Linked DNA regions of Homo sapiens: region 1 is linked to region 2. The links are contacts of gene promoters, found by promoter capture Hi-C in human tissues and cell types (Jung and others, 2019). All regions are on one chromosome and are shown on one strand. The core of a region is centred on a gene start or on the middle of the fragment in contact, and the rest is flanking DNA. Distances in the headings are between cores, read along the strand shown. Region 1 has its middle 24 kb from the start of HNRNPLL. Region 2 holds the start of HEATR5B (HEAT repeat containing 5B).

The links. The method cuts DNA at HindIII sites, captures the fragments that hold promoters and counts their contacts. A contact is called where the count stands out against the background at its distance.
Region 1: a contact is called between a fragment that was not itself captured here and the fragment with the promoter of HEATR5B in region 2, in 1 of the 25 tissues and cell types used here (spleen).

What each region holds. Positions count from the first base shown.
Region 1 is chr2:38,625,530-38,628,229 of GRCh38, reverse strand. No RefSeq gene overlaps it. Among named protein-coding and RNA genes, the nearest start is that of HNRNPLL, 24 kb to the right of the region's middle. The HindIII fragment of the contact is 3,443 bases long and covers 1-2,700 here.
Region 2 is chr2:37,082,951-37,085,650 of GRCh38, reverse strand. HEATR5B (HEAT repeat containing 5B) reads left to right here and starts at 1,279. Exons shown (of 36, transcript NM_019024.3): 1 at 1,279-1,382; 2 at 2,215-2,362. The coding sequence starts at 2,237. GPATCH11 (G-patch domain containing 11) reads right to left here and starts at 1,133. Exons shown (of 9, transcript NM_174931.4): 1 at 1,081-1,133. RefSeq lists enhancers at 1,042-1,201, 1,672-1,771. The HindIII fragment of the contact is 9,229 bases long and covers 1-2,700 here.

The DNA of each region.
Region 1 (2,700 bases), core at 47-2,546, 1.5 Mb before region 2:
TGTTTAACGAACTGCTTGGCACATGGTGTGTTCTTAATATGTCAAATATCATTATTATTACTTAAATTTTTTCCAGTTAGGCTGTCACTGAGTACAGAACACAGTGATATCAACAAGAATTATAGAGCACTGCTATAACATTACTTGACACAGAGCTTCAGATACACTCTGGCCATATCATCCTCTAAAATAAAGATCTATTTTCCCTAAGTTCTTTCCTGAAAGTCTCAGATCACTGGAGAGGCTGGAGTTGGGGTTGGGAACAGTGGAGGGGGAAGGTGATGAGGAGAAATGGTGGAAGTATCTCTCTGGAGGGGCTGCTGCTGACATTACAGGGTCCCCCAATAATAAAGCTGGTTCACCATCTAATTGTCCTGCAGAAAAGCCCTTTAGGCAACACACCTTGCCAATGCACCCGGAGCTTCCAAAGAGCCTTTTTAGGAGGCACTCTTAAAAACTAATGATCAGCCAAGGATTCTGACATTTCAAGAAAACCTGCAACATGAAAGACACATACTGAAACAAACAGAGAAAAATGGAATTCAGATGTTAGAAGGCAGAGAGTTCTTGACCCTGGAAAGAGTTAAGTCGAGTTACAATCACTGTTTGTAAAGCTGTTTGATCTGCAATGTTAGCACTGCTATGGCCACAGTCTCATATCACTAAGGATTACATTCAACTGCAAGTAACCCACCACCAGACTATAGTGGCTTAAACAAATAGCCATTTATTATTGTGACAAAACAAGAAGTTGGAGGTAGCAGCTGCAGGAATTGGTTCAATATCCCAATTATGGCAGGAACGGCACCTTTGTGATTTTCTCCTTCGTTTTCTCACGGTCCAAGATGGTCATTGCAGTTTCAGGAATCATATCTTATTAAAGGCTGATGCAGTCCCCATGCCCTTCTTTATGAGTGGGGAATCCTATACAGAGTATAAGGGAGGCTGTTAATGGGAGTAGCTTAATGGCTGCCAAGGGCTCAGAGAAATCTTTCTTCATATTTGTAGAGCCCAGTTTCTCATCAGAGGACTCTTAGCTTAGATTGGTGTTAAATGCAAGTAGTCAGGTAATGATCATTGTGATGGTTAATATTGAGTGTCAACTTGATCGGATTGAAGGATGCAAAGTATTGTTCCTGGGTGTATCTGTGAGGGTGTTGCCAAAGGGGATTCACATTTGAGTCAGTGGACTGAGAAAGGCAGACCCAGCCTCAACCTAGGTGGGCACAATCTCATCAGCTGGCAGCATGGCCATAAAAAAAAGCAGGCAGAAGAATGTGGAAAGACTAGACTAGTTGAGTCTTCTGGCCTCCGTCTTTCTCCTGTGGTGGATACCTCCTGCCCTCAGACATCAGACTGCAAGTCTTTGAGGGCAGCTTTGGGACTCTTGGGCTTTAGACCACAGACTGCAGGCTGCACTGTTGGCTGCCCTACTTTTGAGGCTTTGGGACTCGGACTGGCCTCCTTGCTCCTCAGCTTGCAGACAGCCTATTGTGGGACCTCACCTTGTGATTGTGTGAGTCGATACCCCTTAATAAACTCCCGTTTATGTATACGTATATATATTAGTTCTGTCCCTGTAGGGAACCCTAATACACTCATTTATAAATTAGTAGATTGTGCCACTGCTGACACCTGCTTGCCTAACGAAGCTTCCTATCTAGTTAACTGACAGTGTGCCCTTGTGGGACTGTTATCACTGACATCAAAAGGATGTGGGGGGAGGGGAAAAATCCCACAGTGGGTCTTAAGAAGACAGTTCTACAAGCACATCACTTTTCAAAGGTTTAACACCATTTAAAAACCATTTCATGTTACATACAATATAGAAAACATCCTCAAATGGTTTAAAGATACGTTCCTGTGACTATGTAAAGCTGGCAGTCTTCTGTGGAACTCTATAGAGTTTTCTCAGATCCTCAGGAGATTAATTCAGAGATGAGCTAAGCTAACTTGGGAATCAGTCCCTGGAGCTGGGTTGTGGATGACAACAATTCCAGCTTTTTCTTTTAAACATAACAAAGCTCAAGCACCATTATATAATGGTAATGTAAATCAAAACCACTGGGGAAAAATCACCCATAATTCCACTACTTTAACAAATAAACCAGTTTCATTTTTCCATGTATCTTTAATGATGATTGACATATTTCTTTAAATGACAAATCACCCATCTAAATGCAAGCTGCTCTTGAGCTATGAGAGATGGTTACAGAGCATTTGGGGGTTAGGGCCACACAAGAGGTTTGATTCACTGTCTTTAAAACTCTTCTGACCCTTACAAAGTAGCAAATTTTAAAAATCGTAATTTGTGTACACATCTTGTCTGTTCTAGATTATAATCGCTCAGAAGACAAATGAGAATCATGGTTTACTCACAATTGCATTCCCTGAAATACCTAGTTCATAAAAGACATATGTACCTTGTCCATAAAACACAATTAATAAATATTTATTGAAAAAGTGAATGGGGGCAGAGCACCATGGCTCATGTGTGTAATCCTAGCACTTTGGGAAGCCAAGGTGGGTGGATCATCTGAGGTCAGGAGTTCGAGACCAGCCTGGCCAAGATGGTGAAACTCCATCTGTACTAAAAATACAAAAAATTAGCTGGGCGTGGTGGCATATGCCTGTAATCCCAACTACTCAGGAGGCTGAGGCAGGAGAATTGCTTGAACCTAGAAGGTGGAGGTTGCAGTG
Region 2 (2,700 bases), core at 30-2,529:
TCCAGTTGCAACTCTCTTTTGGTTCTAAGAATAGTCACTATTCTGTTTTTTATGGCAATCATTTCCTTCATTTTCTCGATAGTTTTGTCATCCACGTGTGCATCTTTAAACATTACAGTTTAGTTTACCTATTTTTATTATAAGTTAAAAACGTGCACTATTATATACAGCATTTATGGTAATTCACCCGCTTCCTCTAAACCTCAGATTCTTCATTGGTAATAACAGCATTTTTACACATAATGGTTTAACACTTACCCAGTATATCACACATTTTTATCACATTTAACCACCACTAACAACTCTACAAGGTAGGAAGAGTTTTTCCTGTTGGAGAAATTAAGGTTCAGTATGGCTAAATGACTATTTCAAAACCACAAAGAATCCGGGTCATAGTGCCTTGCAAATAGGATTACATTGTTTTTAAGAGACCTACTTAACTTTAAAGTGCCAGGCACATCTGAATGGGGTTACAGGTTGCTTTTAAAGCTCTCTTTCTATTGGTAAAATATACTTTAGCATTATCCATTTCCATCAAAGATAAGCATAAACTTCACAAGGCGATACCCTGGCAGAGATGATGGAGGCTCGTACCAGAGTGATAGCAATGCAAGTGGTCGCATTTGGGGTACACTTGAAGGTAGAGCTTACAGGATTTGCTGATGTTGTAGGTAGTACGTAAAGAACGATGTCAAGATAACGCTAAGTTTTTGGCCTGAATACATGGAAGAACGGAGTTAACGTTTTTTGAGAGTGGGAAGACTGTAGGAGTAGGTTTGTTTTTGTTTTTTTAGGGGGCGTAGTCGGGAAACAGACATATTGAGAGTCCCATTACATATACAAGTGGAGAAATGGACCTACAGTATAAATGTGACAAGAAACGTCCCACTCTCAATACTACGCTCAGGAACCGCTGATCCCTTCCCTCACGCGTTCCTCCTGGCTGCAAGCGTCCCACAGACGCAACCACCCACGGATGGAAAAGTGGCTGACGGTGTGATACGGTAGTCATGGCCAGCGCACTCTGCCTTTTATCATTCTACCGGTTGTCCCCAGACCCTTACCTGACAGCTCTCTTACCTGACAGCTCTCTGCTCGCCCCGGTTCAGCGCCGTAGAGCGCGCGCTGCGCATGCGCCCACCGACCAGCGTCGGACTTCCGGACCTCGGCTCCCACCAGTTTCCTAGTGCAGACTCTATTGGAAATTCGCGGCGGGTGGGGATAGGAGGACGTGGTGACTGCGCTTGCGCAAGACCAGCCCTCCGCGCAAGCGCTCTTCCCTTGTTTCCTGCAGGTAGGAGTGCGGGAGGTGGGGCATCCGGGTCTCTTGGTGGCTGCTTCTACCCCCGGAGCTCAGCTGATCTTCCCTTCCAGACTACGAGGTGAGGTCGCCGAAGCATGCATGTTGACACGCACGGACTCCTGTCCGACGTACATTTTCAGACGGGTGGGGAAGACATTTGAGTTCGTAATGAACATTTTCCCTTTTCTGGCTCCGTGCTTAGTTCCGAGCTGCCGCCTCGTGCTATTGACAGCCTGCGGAACCCCACGGAGGCTTGCGGCGGCCTCTTGGTGTTTCCCCGGGTCCGCCGCTTGCGGTTCTTGGAGTAGCCAGGTGAAGCCAGACCCCGAGCGCGCGAGGCTTCTCGGGTGCATTCCGGACCGCCTGGTGTTGTCACTGACGCTTCGGCCGCCGGGCCTGGCCGCCCCACCCATCCGCGTAGGAAGAGTCTTGGAGACCTGCAGTTCGGGATGTCTGTGCTGGGTGTTTTGACCTCAGTCCCTCTGGCCAGGTGCAGCGCGGGAGGGTAAAGGTGCTATGTACCGAACCCTGGACGAGAAAAAGAGGAGGATGGTTGTCAAGCCCGGCTGGGGTGTTTGATCTTAGTGCTTCAGTTTTTTCATTTATAGAACGGGTAAATGACATATGTGTTGCTGGACATATTTCTTCTGGAATAATGCCTTTTTTGGCAATAATTTCTTTTAATTTTCTTTTCACTCCATGAGTCACTCTTCCTTACCAAGTAGTTTTCTTCTGTTTTTGTTTGTATTTTTGTCATTTAAAAGTATGTTCTCAGGTTTTGCCTCAAAGAAGTTGAGTTTTTCCCCAAATGAAATGAGTAGTCCTACTTTTCTTAGTGAGTATATTCCATTAAGCTTGACTTTTAACATTAAAAAATACTTACAAGTATTTTTTACTCTGTTAAATTTAAGGTGTGAATTTCAAACTTCCGTAATGGAGTTAGCCCACAGTTTATTGCTAAATGAAGAAGCTTTGGCTCAAATCACCGAAGCAAAAAGACCAGTTTTCATCTTTGAATGGTTGCGATTTCTTGATAAAGTCTTGGTTGCTGCCAACAAGGTATGGTATTGCTCTTTTTTCCCAGTTGCATTAACGTGAAGAGATTATGTGGTCATGATTCTTAAGAAAACACATGTTATGTTTTGGAAGGTTTATGGGTCACTTATGGAACTTGAGAGTATTACACGAATGGGAAATTTAGTGGCAAAACTCAAACCTCGTTTAAATCCAGCTCATTGCCTATCTTCTTTATGTTTGTACCTGGGCAGCTCATTGTAACTGGAGAAAAACATGGCTATATGACTGGTGTCACTTTAAATTTATCATCGTCACCCGTTGCAAGTGATCTCTCTATGCTGCCTAACAATCCCAGTGTCTTCACTTATCTCTTTGAGGAG